Linked DNA regions of Homo sapiens: all the other regions are linked to region 4. Evidence: promoter capture Hi-C in 16 types of primary human blood cells and fetal thymus (Javierre and others, 2016). All regions are on one chromosome and are shown on one strand. Each heading gives the region's core, a stretch centred on a gene start or on the middle of the fragment in contact. The rest is flanking DNA. Distances are from core to core; before and after follow the strand shown. Region 1 overlaps SPTBN1 (spectrin beta, non-erythrocytic 1). Region 2 overlaps SPTBN1 (spectrin beta, non-erythrocytic 1). Region 3 overlaps SPTBN1 (spectrin beta, non-erythrocytic 1). Region 4 holds the start of ACYP2 (acylphosphatase 2). Region 5 holds the start of CHAC2 (ChaC glutathione specific gamma-glutamylcyclotransferase 2). Region 6 overlaps SPTBN1 (spectrin beta, non-erythrocytic 1).

Region 1 (2,899 bases), core at 198-2,697, 360 kb before region 4:
TTGGCCTGGATTTAACATGATTTCTAATAGAAAGTGAATTAATTAATTAAAAAAAAAAAAAAAGGTAATGCCACAAATCCGAAAGTCTGGGGAGTTAGAGAGTTTAGTCTTTATCAAGTTTTACCCATGTACAGTTACAAAACGGGGGTTGGGGAGGCTGCTCCTTCTTACCTAAAGTTTATTACATGAAGTTTACAGCCATTTTAAGTGAAAACTTCCATACTAAGATTTGTTACATACGCAGGCATAAAATCCCTGGCAACAAATGTTGTGTTTAAATCCAAAGTCTTCTGGTAGAGAAATATTTAATACCTCTTGACAAAAGTTATCTCTCTGTTTCTTATCAGAGCCCTCATTTCAGTAGTATCTCATTTCAAAACTTCTAGAAAACTTGTTACAGAAAGTCAAAGAGAACCAAGAAAAACACTGAAGCCAATAAAAAAAAAACTCGGTGTGTTTGGACCATCTGTCCAAACCAATTTAATTTTTTTATAACCACTAAGATATGTGGTCAAAGTTTATTTACCTTTCTCTTTTCAATGGTAAGTTTAGAACACAAAGGCAACTAAATGAAGAAAAAGTCCTATGGATTCAACACAGGCATGTAACCAGTAATAACTAATTTTTAAAAACACTGCCTGCAATTTGATTTGCAATAGAAAAAATCTCTCTTCAAATAGTCAACTCTTTTAACAAACAATAAAAACAAAGCTTCTTCCCAATGCAAGTATTAATTAAAATGCAATTCCAAATACTTGCTTTGTATGAGAACAAGTTAGACAAATTAGGGTATCCCAAAGCATGTTCAACAAAACCTGCATCCGAGAGAGGCTATGAAAAGTAAGAAAATAATTCAAAGGTCAGGTAAGTTTGGGAAACATCGTATGTTACTCTCCACCTCCAGAATGCCTGTTAGGATACAACAGCTCGGAGACGACCTTCACTAAAGAGGCCTAGTACATGTTATTAAGCCCAGCATTCTCCAGATTTACTTGACCAGGAGATGCCCTTTATCAACAGTACATGTGAACATACTGCAAAACTGGTGCTTCAAAGAAGCTGATGGGAAATGCTGGATTCGACCATATTACCTACTCTGTTATCTATGTTTAGTTAGAAACTTTTAATGATCACACATACCCAGTCTCTTCTTTTTGTGGCTACATGGGAGGATTACTCTTACCTGCTACCCTAGCATTTGGGCGGGGCATTTGATTATTCTGATCAATGGCCTGCATCTAGCCCATCAGTCCACCGTCCTTGAGTGAGGATGGCACAGAGCACCCTGCCACCATGTGACGGACAAGTAACATGAGTGGAAAATACGCATCTGTGAGTTTGAGCCACCGAGATTCTGGAGATCTTTGTTACTGCAGCACCAGCCTAACCTGCCTGATAAACTATGGAAGGGAATTTTTCTTAAATAAACCTATATATAGTGACCAGAAGTGACAAAATAAATATATAGAGAAATGTGGAATAAGCATACAACAAGAATGAACCTTTAAGGCCACTTTGGTCTAAAGAATCTCATTTCAAGCACTAAAGAGCAGTGAATTAAAACTAAACACTCTGGTATGGACTAATTTGAAGCATCAAAAGTTTTGTTTGTAGTTTGTGGAGGTGAGGCCTTTGACACAAGAAAACTAAAACTCTATTACATAATTTGTCTAAATTCATACTGTTAATAACAGTCATGTGCCTTACCGATGGCTGTATTCTTTTCACTAAACAATGAGTCTGAATTAGTGGAAAATACTAAATGATGAATTTAAAAAATAGTTTTGAGTTTCATTACTCCAAGGCACTCTGTAAGAATGCCGTTCTGTGGCTCAAACTCACAGAAGCATGTTTCCCACTCATGTTACGTGCCTGTCACATGGTAGCAGGAGGCTCTACCATTCTCACTCAAGGACTCTGGCTGCAGTCTGGACACAGGCCATTCCTCAGAACTAGTCCAACATGCCACCAAAATGCAAGGGGAGCAGGCAAGAGTGATTCTCCCATGTGACCACAGAGAGAAGGGACTGCATATCTGTCATCATTAAAAGTTTCTAAACATAGATAACAGCATAGATAATGTGGTTTAATCCAGCATTTCCCATTAGCTTCTGTAAGAATGTGGAAGTATTATGGAACCAAAAGGAGACAAACTGTTGCCAAACGGAAGGCCCTAAGCTTTTAAAGAATAAGCTGTTCTTATAATTGACAAACTAACCGTTTGCAAGGGATACATCCACTTTTCTTTTTCTTTTTTGAGACGGAGTTTCGCTCTTGTCACCCAGGCTGGAGTGCAGTGGCGCGATCTCAGCTCACTGCAACCTCTGCCTCCCGGGCTCAAGTGATTCTCCTGACTCGGCCTCCTGAGTAGCTGGGATTATAGGCATGTGCCACCACGCCCGGCTAATTTTTTGTATTTTTATAATTTTATATTTTGTATTTTTATAATTTTTTGTGTTTTTGTATTTTCACCATGTGGCCAGGTTGGTCTCGAACTCCTGACCTGAAGGCAATCTACCCGCCTCAGCCTCCCAAAGTGCTGGGATTACAGGCATGAGCCACTGCGCCCAGCCTACATCCACTTTTGAAAACAAAGTTTACTTTTTCAAATTATAGAAGTAACATATGCTTACTGTAGAACAGCAGAAAATACAAAACAGCTCTGAGACAAAAGCAAAAATCACAAGGAATCTCATCCATTCTCCCCTCCCCCAAAAACCTTAATATTTGTAGTATTTCCTTATCCCTTTTGTATATTTTTCTACATAGTTACGGTAATTCCATTTATATAATCTTGTGTTCTGCTTTTTCTCCCTATGTTAAAAACCTTCCCATGTTATTAGAAGGTATTCCATAATAATATTAAAGTTTTTATTAATATAGTAAATAATACTTACAT
Region 2 (2,995 bases), core at 481-2,980, 460 kb before region 4:
GGACGACCCTATGGAGAATCCTCAATTTAGAGCATCCCCTCCTCCTCAATTCTAAGCAAATGAAAAGGGTTTTTACTAATGAGAAGTACTTGATGATTATGCACAACCCCTTTGTTGTCCATTCTACACTTGTATTATCATTAAATTTGTTATGTATTAGCTTTCAATATAGCCATTCCACAATGCACGTGTATTTCAAAACATGTTGTATGAGATTATATATAAAAATATATAAAGTGTGTGTGTATATATTTATATATTTTTTCTTTTTTTTTAAGACTAAGTCTTGCTCTTTTGCCCAGGCTGGAGTGCAGTGGCGTGATCGTGGCTCACTGCAACCTCCACCACCCGGACTCAAGCGACTCTCGTGCCTCAGCCACCCAAGTAGCTGGGATTACACGTGTGTGCCACTATGCATGGCTAATTTTTGTATTTTTAGTAGAGACAGGGTTTCAACATGTTGCCCAGGCTGGTTTCAAACTCCTGACCTCAAGTGATCAGTCCGCCTCAGCCTCCCAAAATGCTGGAATTACAGGGATGAGCTAGTGCACCCGGCCTATAATTTTTATTTATAATTTTTATTAAAAAATAAAGTTTTTACAAATTTTTGGTTATGTGTGTCTCTCATATTGGCTCCCCCAGGCCTGTACTTTTGGAAGTATACAGTAGAAACCCTAACCCTTTCAGAATTAACTAGTTACCAGCAGTAAGTTTCCCATTCTATCAATAAACAATGCAAGAGAGAAGATTTTGGAGATTTTTTTTTTTTTTTGGTTAAAGTGTGAGAATATGAATACACTTGGATTATAATCCATCCTCCAACACACACACAAATAAGCAGCTAATGGCAATACTAGTGGTCTTCCCAATTCACAAGACCTGTGCTTCAAATTGTTTTCCTGATAATGTGGAGAAATGTGCTCTTTATGTATTCTCAAGAAACAGGATGTGAAAAGCTGGTATGGGTATACAAGATAAAAATGCCTACCCAGAGTGGGCAGAAGCCTCTAAATATTACTGGTTTGCTAAAAGTTTCAGATGCTTTTTAGTTCTACATATGTTAGTTCTACCTTTAACCTCTCTACCACTCAACGAACCATCAAGAAACAAAATCTACTCCCTATGTAACAGTAAAGTCACCCCAGACTAACCTTCAAAAGGGGTTTTACTTTAAAGAAACAGCTTCACAGCCACTGCTGTCATAGAGAATATTCTCAGGTTCCGTGTGGCCGGAAGCTTGAATTTTTTCAGTGCTGGCTTCCTTCTCCAGTGGGGCCAGAGGCTGTCAGAGCCAGCCCGGAAATCTCTCTCATATATGGCTTTAACGTAAATGAAAATATTCCCCTGTTAATTATTTACATAAAGAAGGTCATACAGGTCTGTCCTAGCAACACCAGAGAGCCGTTCTCACCAGCAGCTTTTACCCTCAGAAAGGAGAGAAGAAACACCCATTCAAGTTCAGCACAGAGGTTTGGGTTTATAACCTGTTTCCAAAGTCAATACAGTTAACTGCTGTGGGCTATTTGCTTTCAGAGTTTTAGGATCTCTCTCTCTCACTATACTTTCTGGCAAAGCCTGACAAACAATAGAGTCATTTTAGTCTTAATGCATTGGCTAAAACTGGTTCCTACATTCTCATCAATTCTCCTAAGACTTACATTTTACCTAAATCCAAAGGTCAACAGGAGTTCTCGGGACTTACAAAGGTACTTTTCAGAACTCCATGCAGCAATATATCTTCCCAGTTCAAAAGCAGGGCCAAACAGCAATGCTGGGCTCCCTTAATATGCCAATGTGCTTCAGCTCAGTGAGGATCTGGTCTGTCCACAGTTCAGGTATTAAGAGAGCTATATAGCACGTGCGCTAATGCTACCAATACAGAGACGAACTACCCCTCATTGGGGGCCACGGTCCCTATGGGTGAGTGTGAAAGATGGGGAGTTTAGGTGTTTTCAGAAACTTCTGGTTTGTGGTACTGTATGATTTCCCCAAATAATGGTCACACATGAGCAGAGAATCAGTCCCAAAAAATGGTAGTTGATAACCTGGCACTGTATTCGATCTCTGGGTGACATTCTCATACCTGAGGGATGCCTCAGGTCAAACGGAAGCTGTTATACTTCATTCTATGTGCCGTCAAAGCTCCTTCTATGAGCTAAGAACACTGCAACTGAAAGTAAAGGTAAAAGAGGTCATGAGCTAGAGAAACTCCTAGGAAGCTTTATTCTGAAAAGAACAAAATGGGAATATATAATATATATTAGGTTGGTGCAGAAGTAATTGTAGTTTTGTCATTACTTTTAATTGCAAAAGCCACAATTACTTTTGCACCAGCCTAATACATTCATACCAGAGGGCTTCTCTATAGCACCCTCAAAAGAAAATTTCTTGGGAAAAATGGTGACATGGCACCTTTCAGTCTAGCAGTGTTAGGCATTCCTAAGAAAGATACTCAGATTTCTCCTGGACAGAGAGGGCATAGAAGAGAACAAACCCAGCATTCACCAACCCAACAATCCTATTAGGAATCTTATGATTCTGGACTCTTGAAGTGGCAGAAGTAGCATCATACACACACACATCAGAATTATCATCACACACACACACACACACACACACACACCCCATCAGAAGACACTTGCCTAGGCCAAATTAAATCATTTCTGGAAGTGGGCAGGGTATAAATAATAAATATAAATAACTTGCCTCACTGATGCCAAATATAGATCATAATGAATGGGAACAAAATCAAGTTTGTGGTTTTAGGATACAAGTAAGGCTGAACACGTAAGGATGAACTCTTAGAAACAGTTTTTATATCTGCTATGGGGAAACTCAAAAGGTGGCCTGAAAACACAATGCAAATCGCAGCTGGAAGTCTTCACTTATACTTGGCAGCAGCAGCAGCAGCAGCAGCTAACCGGAAACAGGGATTATCCATTTTATTCACACAGGGACATCACAGAACAAAAGGCTAACACTTAGCCCAAAAACA
Region 3 (3,080 bases), core at 183-2,682, 340 kb before region 4:
TGGGAATAGAATCTTAATCTAAATATGTGAGTCAGAAGAATACATAAAGTATAATTTTGTTGATATAAAGTTCAAAATCATACACAATCAAGATTTTTTAAAAAGGATAAACCATAGAGAAGGGAATGATATGCACAAAATCAAGGATATGGGTTGTTTCAGATGGGATGATGGAGGTGGGCTCTGAATGTATAAGGCTCTTCCTGAACTAGCCGGTGGCTGCCTGAGTGTCCCTTGGTTTATGATTTTTATTTTTTTGAGACAGAGTCTCGCTCTTGTCACCCAGGTTGGAATGCAGTGGCGCGATCTCGGCTCACTGCAACCTCTGCCTCCCCAGTTCAACTGATTCTGTTGCCTCAGCCTCCCGAGTAGCTGGGAATTACAGATGCCTGCCACCATGCCCAGATAATTTTTGTATTTTTAGTAGAGATGGGGTTTCACCATGTTGGCCAGGCTGGTCTTGAACTCCTGACCTCAAGTGATCCGCCCCCACTCGGCATCCCAAAGTGCTGGGATTACAGGCGTGAGCCACTGCACCCAGCTGGTTTACGATTCTTTAACATATATTTTAGGAACATTATTTTGTACCTACCAATTAGTTGATTCAAAAAAGAACTCTAAGAAAAGACTGGACGAGAGGGCAGGACATTGACTATATCAGATGACAGACATCAAGATGCCAGAGCAGAGGGAGCAGAGAGGACCCTTTGCTCAGGGGTTAGCTTCCGAGGCTCCAGCTCTGATGTCTCAAAACCAATGCCTTTTTCTTCCAGAGGGGAAAAAGACTGTTTTTCAACTTTAGAGGTGTTTTACAAAACAACCTAAAACACTGATTAATCTAAATAAACCATGGTATATAGGACTCTTCCACCAAGAATTAAAGAACAGCTTTATAAAATAATTTTGTATTAAACAAATAATTTACAGTGAGAGCCTCACTTTTGTCACCACCATCAAGGAAAAAAATGTGCTGATACTTCAGCAAAAGAAAGGAAAATTCAAGAAGGAAACTTTTGATATTGAGGTCCCTTTGCTGAAGGAACAGAATAGAGTTTCTTCATTTAATGTGCATACAACTCACTTAAAGGTCTTGTTAAAATGTTGATTCCGATTGGCTGAGTTCAGAGTGGGGCCTAAGAATCTGCATTTGCAACAAGCTTCCAGGCGATTCTAATGTTGAAGGTCCGTGAACCTCACTATGATAGCAAAGGACATTATGAAAATGCCTTCTCCAGAGATGTTTAAAAATAGAAACACAGGTATATCTAATTGGTGTAATTTCCTTTAACCACTGAGTAGAAAAAAATAGATGATGTTATTCCCACACAATAAAAATTTAAATATAATTACAAGTGCTACCGGAAAAATCAGAGTACTAAACTAGGTCTTTTGCAAAGAAAAGATGCCCTGAGAAAAAGCAAAGACTGAAAATTTACAAGAAAAACCCATGAGATGCTTTACTCACTTCCACAGACCTACAAAGTTCACTCTTCTAACAGGGGTAGTTAGCCCCTTCCTTCTGGAAGAATGGTTTGCATTTCCAATAATGTAGTGAAAGAAACTACGGCTGCCATTAAATAAAGCCCAATTATAATGAAGATACTAGTTACGATGCAACATAATTAAAGGAGCATCATGTCATTGCACGTAAAAAAAATTAGGCTTTAAAATGTTCTATAAGAATATGCTATTAAAAAGAAAAGCTTAAAATTATTTCGACAAAATCCACACTGAATGATTTCCACTAATCATGTCTATGTTAGCAGTAGTAAAATCCTTCCACGTCAAAATAGTACTTCCACATGTAAAGTCATACATTCAAACATCAAGACAAAGCAACCACTCTACAAACCCTTCCAGGAAACTCTGCCAATGCCAAGCCTCTGCTCAGGATGTGTCACAAGTAGAGGGAGGTCTTCTCATTTGCTCTGCAACATCACAGATAGTTGTTACTAGTCTTGCCCAAGAGAAGTTCTTCACAGAAAACCTCAACTGTGGGAGACGACCTAGTGACAGCAGTTCCTTCACTGCCCAATACTTCTCCTCTCAGATGAAGGTTTTGGTCACTCCAGTAATGACAGAGTTACAAAGAGCTTAACCCAACAGAATTCTGCACCTGCTGTGTAAGTCAGAACAGCTAAACCTCCTGTGACATCAACACAGGATATTTCTTACAACAAAGTAAATCCAAAACGTTTGGATGATCCATGGGAACAACATTCATAAAAATCTGTACGCAACACGATTTTACACAACCAGCACAAAAAGTCTCATATTTTAATGGCTATTAGAGAAACTCAAAATAACGCACATACACCACACAATGTACATGCAGTTCTATTCTGCAGAGCCACATGAAATCAAAAGCAACTAACTTGGATTCATTAGAAATATTTAAAAATACAAGCAGGCACGCCCTTGGCTTGTAAACACTGACCTTCCCTTCCAACTAGCATATTGAAATTTCCTTTTTCACCTAAACATTTTAGGAAAGCCTGGGTTGACATTTGAAATATATCCCATTTGCCATCCCACACTGAATAATGAATTATAGAGATGGCATTTAGAAGGGAAATTCCCTGTGTCCTGGCCGAGACTAAACATGAGAACACTGGGAACCATCTCCTTCTGACTAGATGCCAGTCAAGAGGCCTTGGTGGTCTGCCCTTCTCCACCCTCTCCCCAGTCACAGCTGTGAAAAATATGTATACAAAAAATACATATAAACAAACACAAACGCAGTGTTACTGTCATAATCCCATTAATTACGCCCGGACACTTAACTTGGCTACCTCAATCAATAGAAATCTGAATACCAATTTAGCCCCCATCATGACACTCATACACCTAATAATCCTTAATAAAGCATCCAAATAATGCAACTGTACTTGACTTAGAAAAAGCAAACGATGAAAACAAAATACAAGCTAAAGGAATCATTTACTATCCATTAAAAAACATATAAATTCCTTTTAAAACAACCTACTGAATTTTAATATACTTATAAATGTCTTAGTGACATAAAACCCAAAATGCATTAATCATTTCATTTAAAAATGGTTTCCTACAGAAAAAATGCA
Region 4 (2,795 bases), core at 132-2,631:
TCACCTGCTCCATCCTGAGTCACCCCTGGTCACCTGCTCTGACCTGAATCATCCTGAGTCACCTGTTCTGTAACCACCCTTCCTGCCAAATTATTCACCCCGCCACTTGAGCTCGTACGCCTGCTCTTTAAAATAGCCAGTCGGAATTAGCTTAGACTGTGCGGTCCAACCCTAGCCAGTAGGGGAAAGACACAGCAGTAGAGGCTACCTGCATCAGGAATAAGAACCCCTTCCCCTCCCCTGTTCAGGTGTGCCGTTGCCATTGCTTCATCCGCGAGTCGCACCCTTCTATAGAGGTAAAATTGCCTTGCTGAGAAAATTCTTTGAGCGCTAGTTCTTCTTTTTGGCACCAAAGAACCAGCATTTGTTTCTAAGAGAGCCTTATTGTCAAAGGAAATTAAGAAAAAGCATTACACTTATTCATACATGTGCATATATGTACATATACATATTGCAGAAAAGTATGATAGGGTGAGCAAAAAAAAAAAAAAAACCCTCAAGCAAAACAATGGGGTAATTCGGTGGGAAAAGTGAAATGAAAATCAAATTCAAAGAGGAAAAGAAATGAGTAAAATTTCCCATTGTTGAAGAGTTTTATTTTAAATGAAGATGGTGGATGTTAAATCACTACCCTATTTATATTCCATTGCATAAATCTCAGAGTGACTTAATATTTTCATTTATAAATATCAATATTTTCAACAAGCCAGACATTACAAACTTGGCAACTACTTAAACTTAGGATGAAACAAAAATTAGATAACAATTTCATTCTTTTAAGAGCTACAAAGAGGTCTAAAAAAAGGTTTGACCTCTGAAAAATTAACCTTAAACCATCTAAGTGTCCTTCCTAAAACTCAAGTCAAGCCCAGGTAGCTTCAGTGGCAAGCAACGAGACCACTAGTTAAAAGACCCTCTTCTTTTCCTACCCAACTTCAACATTCCCCCGTGCCGCTTACTCCCGCACCCAGCAGCCGCCCACTTCTGGTCCTCAGCAGTCCCCTGACCCCTCCTCTCCCGCTCCCCCACTTCCCTCCCCATTCCCGTACTTCCGCCCGTCCAAGTCCTCGGGCGCATGCGCGTTTCGCCTCCCTCCCCGCCGCCGCTGCTGTGTCATGGCGGAGCGGAAGTCCCAGCCACAACGGGAAAAGGCATACTTTAGGTGGGAGGCGCTTCTCACAGCTTTCTCCCCTTCCTCCCATAACCTTTTTGATCTCCCACCGTAGAGGGGCCTCCTACCCTGCACTCTTCCGAACACCTCGTAGTCCACGGATTTGAGTGACTGGGCGGTAGACATGGCGGCGGCGAGCCCTCTGTTGAGGAGCCGGAGAGGGGCTCGGGGCGCAGCGACTGCGGCGGCTGCGAGAGGGAGGGGACACATGGGACTGCTTGGCGCACCCCGCGCCTGTCACCGGTCCCGGACGCTAGCGCGCCGGGGTCACGCGTCGGAAGCGGCAAATGAGACTGCGGGGCCTGGGAGCGAGGGCAGCCGGGGACGCCAGGAGGGAAGAGGCCGCTGGGCCCCAGGCATCCTAGGCCTCTCTTCCCGGACTGGGGAGGATGCTGTCTCCACAGCGCTCCCTACCATTTAATTGATCAAGGTACTCTGTTCTCAAAGTTAGTAAATAAAAGCCGGATGCTGTGCCCAAAAAAAGAGTGGCTTCCCCCAGCTTTATTAAAGTGTAATTGACAAATAAAAGTTGGGTATATTTGTGGTGTACAAGGTGATGTTTTGACATATGTATGCATTGTGAAATGATTACATCAATGAAATTAACGTATCCATTGCACCATTTTTTAATGAAGAGAACATTTAAGATCTACTCTCATCAATTTTTAAGGACACAATACATTTATCGCAGTCACCATGTTAGACAACAGATCTTCAGAACTTATTATTCACACTAACTGAAACTTTGTACCCTTTGACCAATATCTCCCCATTTCCAACCCCTTTCATCCCCCATCCCAGGTCCCCCACCCCACTCCATCCCAGCAAGATTGGCTTTTGAAATCAAGGGCCTGCGTGTTTAGTGTTTTGAGAGTTAGTAAATTATTTATGAAATGTTTAGGTGACTACCAAGCCAGCTTTTAAGATAAGGTCTGCAACATCTTGAGCTCTTCTGTACAGTCAGGAAGGAATTGAGCCTGAACTCGTATTCTAAACGGATTGTGATATTTTCTGGGATAAGAAACTTTTTAAAAATATGAAGTCTTTTATGCTAGTGGAAACAGACAAAAGAAAAACACTGTAGTCATCTTGTCTGCTGTTCATACAGTTTTTTTGGTGTGGGTTTGTTGCTGTTGTTTTGAGACGGAGTTTCGCTCTTGTCTCCCAGACTGGAGTGCAGTAGTGCAATCTCAGCTCACAGCAGCCTCCACCTCCCAGGTTCAAGAAATTGTCCTGCCTCAGCCTTCCAAGTAGCTGGGATTACAGGCATGCGCCACCTCACCCAGCTAATTTTTGTATTTTTAGTGGAGACGGGGTTTCACCATGTTGTCCAGGCTAGTCTCAAACTCCTGACCTCAGGTGATCCACCTGCCTCGGCCTCCCAAAGTGCTGGGATTACAGGTGTGAGCCACCACACCCGACCTTTTTTTTTTTTTTTTTTTTTGATTGTCTTGATTATTCTCAGCAACATCCCAATTGCCTAGAAGGTTAAGGCTGAATTTTATTTCCTGGTGAGCTATTACCAAGTTTTAATATAAAACCATCCACCACTCCAAAGGATCTGGATACAGCTATTGATAATCTGCCACCTTCTAGAATTCCAAATCTGTTTACTTGTGAGAAT
Region 5 (2,700 bases), core at 163-2,662, 350 kb after region 4:
CAGAAGCCATTTAATTTAGCTTAGTTCTTTAATGTCTTGAATATTGTTCTAGAACATTCTTGGAGATACTTTGGCCATGACATTTCTGTTGATCTGTAAATGTGCATTTATCCTAAGCCATTGCCCCTTTTCAGGTCACTGTGTCCAACATCCCAATAGGCCAGTATAGTCTACTTAAAAGCCAAGTTCTTAACTGACCAACTCTAGTTGAGATAGAATGGTTTCTAATTCAGGTTCTTTTCGTGATTTTAATCCCATGTCTCTCTTATGAGCAGGTGCAAACTACTTTAGCGCCTTGATCTTTTCCACTTTCCATTGACCAATTTCCAAATTATTAGTTACCTCAATCTTAGTTTTCTTTATGGATTAGTTGTTTTGTAGCCAGTACAAAGCTGATTTGCATAAGCAGTGAGCTGCTGCTAATTCTCTATACATATATTGAGATTAATGTCTTTGTAGGACTGACTGAAAAGTGAATCAATGAACTTACATTTCATATTATAATTATGAGAACCATCAAGAAAGTAACATTAAAATAATGCTGGATATAGTAATGAGTTTGGTACTATGTTATTCATATAACCAGAACTTCATTTAACTTCACTAGTACTGAAAACCAAAGTGAGTTCCTTAATAACCAGCGAAAATTTTGGAAACTCATTCTGCAATCCTGTGTGTCAGAAAATAAAACTTTTGAAAGATGTAAAGAAATCCTAGAAGTAACATGCACGTTTAATCGCAAGCTCATGAAAGTCGGCTAGAATGCAGAAATGCCAACAAATTTAATTGCTAAAAAGCTGAATTTGCAACTTGATTTACTATTTCAACTCTGTGGTGACATGAGCATTCATCTTCCCGCCAATGGGACTTTTTTTCTTTTGGCAGAGGTTGCAGAGAGATGGAGTCCCCATCTCCGCACTCAGCCTGGTGCGAGCTCGTGCGCCTGTGCCCGCGCTTCTCGCCGTCTCTAGAGACTAACCACCGGCATCTTAAGCAGCTTCGGAAGGAGTGCCCGGGCTGGGTTAGAGATGGCGGGCAGGTGGCAGGGAAAATCTACAGAAATGTTACCCCAAGCCATGTGCTTTGGCCCCATGAAGCGCTAAGGTGTGGTTCTCTAGGGTGTGGGTGCTGTGTGTGGAGTTGGGGAGCAGGGGTCAGGGGGCAGTAAGTGTGGGGAGCTGACCGGCGCCTCACCTTGCCGGGGACCCCGCGGTGGTCCGTGCTGCCCTGCCAGAAGCGCCTGCTGTAGTTGGTGATGTATCCGACCAGCTTGTCCTGATAGGGGAAATCCACCTTCCAGATCAGGGACCCGTAACCAAAAACCCACATCTTCTCGCGGCTCCTCTGCCCCAGTGGCCGTGAACCCTAGCTGTCGCCGCGCCGCCGGGGACTGAAGCCTCCGGTAAGCGAGTAACCGGCCGCGCGGGGCGCAGGCGCGATGGCCACTTGGGGCGCAAAGCGCACTGGGAGTTTAGATCCAGAAAGATTTTCCGAGCGGATCTCAGTCAGCTTTATTTTATTTCCTTGATTAGGGTGTCAAGAGGCATTGACCTTCGGTGTAGTAAGCAATGGATTCTTTTGCAGCATCCGTAAATCACCCTAACCTACCTTTAGTGCCCGTGTGCAGAAAACTACAATACCCACAATGCTTTTTGGAGCTATTTGGCTCTGAAATTGGAACTGGGCTTATTTCTAACGGGGCCGAGGAAGGAGAAAAGAGCAGGAGTCGTCACTCGTGTCCAGATACGGAGGCGGTGTACCAGCACCGCAGGTAGCAAAGCACCTAGAAACACGTTTTGTTCTGCTTTGGAAATTAGATTTTTGCCTATATAACAGCAGCCAGAGGAATGTAATTCATATTTGATTTTATGTCCTGAAAAAAAAGTCTTTTGCCTTTCAAATAAAAGCAGAAAGTTTACAATAGAAGTTTACGCTTGTGAAAGAGTAGCTGTCATTTCAATGGGAATTGTTTATATATTTAAATTTTACACAAATTTATTCATCTTTAGTATTATCATTGGCTTGTTCACAAAAGAGCAGGCAAATGTTCTTAACTTGGGGCCCCTGTAAAGGCTTTGGAAACGAGCTGGGGAACCTGAATTTGTATACAAAATTTGGGGTGTACACTTTTCTAGGGGGAAACTACAGCTTTCATGAGTTTCTCCAAGGGGTCAAGGATCCTAAAATTTTTTGAAGATCTGCTCATTAGAGCTCTTGCTGCAAAATATTGTTTAGGAAATTCGCTTGGACTATCATGGCTGTGTCTCTGTGTGTGAAAACAGAAACCTTACCAAGTGATTGTTCTTTCTTGAAGATTTTTATACCATGATCTTGAATGCTAAAACACTCAGATTCAAGGGGTATTATTTGTTTTCTTATAAAGAAATCAGCAGGAAGCTGCTACCAGACAAACAAACAAAAAAAAAAGCAAGTCTTTTCCTATTTTCTCTAAGTTGTGGTTTCAAATTGCCTGATATGGTTGCTAACCCTTCTTTTTTGAAAAATTTTGAATACACAGAAAACTCAGATAAAAAGAGTGTAATGACCAATACCTTTCATCTAGATCCAGTAATTACCATTTTGCACAGTTGCTGTACTTCCTTTTTACTTTATTTATACTTTTAAATGGAGAACATTTGAAGTTGCTTGTGTTATGACATTTTACTGCCACATACTCTACATGTGTCTCATAAGAATAAG
Region 6 (2,920 bases), core at 220-2,719, 490 kb before region 4:
AAGCCATCTCTCACAGTTCTTGTGTATTTTTCACAGTGTCTAGTGCAATACTGTAAACCTTGACTAATATCATGAGACCCAAAGTGCCACTAGTGATGCTGGAAGTACTCCCAAGAAGCAGAGAGAAGTCATGACATTACAAGAAAAGGATGAACTGCTTGCTATGTATTGTAGATTGAGGTCTACAGTTGTGGTGGCCCACCATTTGAAGACTAAAAAAAGAAAAGGAAATTTGTGAAGCCATCCCTGAAGCTACACCAGCAGATGCAAAGACCTTGCACTTTTTTGTGAAATATCTTTTTATCTCATATTGAAAATGCAGCGTTTGGCTGGGTGCAGCAGCTCATGCCTGTAATCCCAGCACTTTGGGAGGCTGAGGCGGGCAGACTGCTTGTGCCCAGGAGTTTGAGACCAGCCTGGACAACATGGCAAAAACCCGTCTCTACAAAATAAATAAATAAATAATGAATTAATTAAAAATGCATCTTTTATGTGAGTGCAGGATTGCCATAAGAGAGGCATACCTAAGGACTAATATGATTTGAGAAAAAATGAAGTCATCATATGACAATTTAAAGGCATAGGAAGGTGAAGGATCTAAGGCTGGAGAATGTAACACCAGCAAAGGATGGCATGACTATTAATTTTTAATTGGGTAGCCCTCAGAACCAGGAAAGGTTCACAGAGCTCCCAGTCTGATAATTTCGGAAAGAGGTTTGGCTTAAAAAATGTCAAGGAATTGGGAGAAGCAGCTTTTGCTGACCAAGAGGCAGCAGATGAGTTCCCAGGCACCATTAAGAAAATCAATGAAGGAAAAGTGTATCTTGCCTCAACAAGTTTTTAATGCAGACGAAAGTGCCCTGTTCACAAAAGCCCAGTAAGAGAAAGAGAGGTGAGCACCAGGACTTAAGGCATAAAGGGATAGGCTAACTCTACTGTTCTGTGCAAATGCAGCTGGGTTTATAATCAGGACTGCCCTTATTCATAAGGCTGCTAACCTTTGAGCCTTGAAGGGAAAAAATAAATACCAGCTGCCAGTCTTCTGGTTGTACAAAAAGAAGGCCTGGACAATGACAACCGGTTTTCTGAATTGGTTCTACTGATGTTTTGGTTCCTGAAGTCTCAAAGTACCTTGCCAGTAAGAGGCTGCGTTTTAAAGTTCTTTTGGTATTGGATAATGCCCCCACCCAGAACCCCATGAGTTCAACACTGAAGGCACTGACATGGTCTACTGGCCCCTAAACACAACATCCCTAATTCAGCCTCTAGATCAAGGGGTCATAAGGACTTGTAACGCTCATTACTACACAAAACTCTATGGAAAGATTTGTTGATGCTATGGAATAGAATCCCCAACAGAGAGAACATCAGGAAAATCTGGGAGGACTACACCACTGAAGATGCCATCATTGTTACAGAAAAAGCTGTGAAAGCCATCGAGCCTGAAACAATACATTCCTGCTGAAGAAAATGATGTCCAGATGTTACACAGGACTTCACAGAATTTATGACAGAGCCAATGAAGGAAATTATGAAAGAGGTTGTGGATATGGCAAAAAGGTAGAGGGGTGAAGGTTTTCATGATACGGATCTTGGAGAAATTCAAGAGCTATCAGACACCACATCAGAAGAATTAACGGAAGACGACTTGATGAAAATGAGTGTCTCCAAAAAGATGACAAATGATGCGGAAGAGGATGTAAAAGCAGTACCAGAAAACAAATTGAATTTGTTCCAAGGGTTCCAATTATTCAAGACTGCTTGTGTTATTTCCATAAAGTTACACCAAGTGTCCCTGCCTCTTCTGCCTCCCCTTCTACCTCCTCCACTTCTACTACACCAAGATGGCAAGACCAATCCCCCCACCTTCCTCCTCAGCCTACTCAACGTGAAGACAAGGATGAAGACATTTATGATGATCCACTTCCACTTAATGAATCTGCAAATATATTTTCTCTTCCTTTTCTAACATTTTCTTTTCCCTAGCTTACTTTAAGACTACAGTAATGTAATACACATAACATGCAAAATATGTTAATTGACTGTTTATATTATTGATAAGACAACAGTAGGCTATTAAAAGTTTTGGGGGAATCAAATGCATAGGAAGATTTTCAGCGGCATGGGGTTGGTGCCCCTAAACCCCCTGCTTTGTTCAAGGATCCACTGTGTGTGTGCATGCGCGCACTCGTGCGCGCATGCACACACACGCACACAAAATGGGTTTCTATTATCTGTTGTACCAACACCAAGCTCATGCCCTCGCCCATCTGGCTCCATCCTTCTCTCCTTCCTATTTCCCATCACTCCCCCTCTAGTAGAGGCTGCACCTGGAGCTGATGTCACCATCTCATAAAGATGCCAGGAGGATGCACACATCCACATGTAGAAGAACGCACTCAGCCTGTGACCCATCATCTTGACTTCCCAATCTCTTCACCTCATCACACCTACCTACCTTCCAAGGCTCAGGCCAAGGCCCATCTTTCCTTCCCGGAGACATTCCCATTTCCAATCATTCTGGTTCTCACAGCTCTTCTTTTCCTCACAACTCTACAACTAACAGGCTGGACCACAGAGCCCAGGAACTCATCATTATAATTTTGCTGTTGTTTCATTTATTGCTCTTATTACTTCCAACTAGACTGTTCGCTTCCTAAGAGCAAGGATGAGGCTTTATACTTCTATATTCTCAGGGGTTTTTGGTCCAGTTCTGAGCACAGAGTTATGTGCACAGTGAACTGAATGCCAGCAGACAGACTGGGCTTGGTGTGTGCTGAGCGGACCTCACAGGGGAAAGGGGGCCAGGCTGCAGCAACCCAGGTACACGCAATTAAGGGCAGCAGCCAGCCCTACCTTAGTATCTTGTCCATTCCCTGCTCTTCCCCTGGGTAGTTAAGATCCTCAGCTATGTGCTGTA

What was found. Contacts are between HindIII fragments. The CHiCAGO score rates a contact against its expected background, and 5 or more counts as called.
Region 1: a fragment that was not itself captured here is called in contact with the fragment with the promoter of ACYP2 in region 4 in 2 of 17 cell types (megakaryocytes and endothelial precursors); the score reaches 6.7 in megakaryocytes.
Region 2: a fragment that was not itself captured here is called in contact with the fragment with the promoter of ACYP2 in region 4 in 3 of 17 cell types (megakaryocytes, total B cells and endothelial precursors); the score reaches 6.5 in megakaryocytes.
Region 3: a contact is called between a fragment that was not itself captured here and the fragment with the promoter of ACYP2 in region 4, in 1 of 17 cell types (megakaryocytes). The highest score is 5.1, in megakaryocytes.
Region 5: a contact is called between the fragment with the promoter of CHAC2 here and the fragment with the promoter of ACYP2 in region 4, in 8 of 17 cell types (monocytes, naive CD8 T cells, total CD8 T cells and 5 more). The highest score is 11.1, in monocytes.
Region 6: a contact is called between a fragment that was not itself captured here and the fragment with the promoter of ACYP2 in region 4, in 1 of 17 cell types (neutrophils). The highest score is 5.5, in neutrophils.

What each region holds. Positions count from the first base shown.
Region 1 is chr2:54,474,565-54,477,463 of GRCh38, reverse strand. The region is part of intron 1 of SPTBN1 (spectrin beta, non-erythrocytic 1); the gene reads right to left. Among named protein-coding and RNA genes, the nearest start is that of SPTBN1, 20 kb to the right of the region's middle. The HindIII fragment of the contact is 1,467 bases long and covers 714-2,180 here.
Region 2 is chr2:54,578,378-54,581,372 of GRCh38, reverse strand. The region is part of intron 2 of SPTBN1 (spectrin beta, non-erythrocytic 1); the gene reads right to left. Among named protein-coding and RNA genes, the nearest start is that of SPTBN1-AS1, 21 kb to the right of the region's middle. RefSeq lists enhancers at 1,084-1,133, 2,133-2,182. The HindIII fragment of the contact is 983 bases long and covers 1,239-2,221 here.
Region 3 is chr2:54,458,181-54,461,260 of GRCh38, reverse strand. The region is part of intron 1 of SPTBN1 (spectrin beta, non-erythrocytic 1); the gene reads right to left. Among named protein-coding and RNA genes, the nearest start is that of SPTBN1, 3.4 kb to the right of the region's middle. The HindIII fragment of the contact is 546 bases long and covers 1,160-1,705 here.
Region 4 is chr2:54,114,201-54,116,995 of GRCh38, reverse strand. ACYP2 (acylphosphatase 2) reads right to left here and starts at 1,381. Exons shown (of 4, transcript NM_138448.4): 1 at 1,240-1,381. The coding sequence starts at 1,297. RefSeq lists silencers at 933-992, 1,483-1,552. The HindIII fragment of the contact is 9,756 bases long and covers 1-2,795 here.
Region 5 is chr2:53,766,516-53,769,215 of GRCh38, reverse strand. CHAC2 (ChaC glutathione specific gamma-glutamylcyclotransferase 2) reads right to left here and starts at 1,412. Exons shown (of 3, transcript NM_001008708.4): 1 at 1,195-1,412. The coding sequence starts at 1,329. The region is part of intron 1 of ASB3 (ankyrin repeat and SOCS box containing 3); the gene reads left to right. All of the region lies in intron 1 of GPR75-ASB3 (GPR75-ASB3 readthrough), which reads left to right. RefSeq lists enhancers at 881-1,070, 1,091-1,440. The HindIII fragment of the contact is 6,206 bases long and covers 1-2,700 here.
Region 6 is chr2:54,607,972-54,610,891 of GRCh38, reverse strand. All of the region lies in intron 3 of SPTBN1 (spectrin beta, non-erythrocytic 1), which reads right to left. Among named protein-coding and RNA genes, the nearest start is that of SPTBN1-AS1, 51 kb to the right of the region's middle. The HindIII fragment of the contact is 4,624 bases long and covers 1-2,920 here.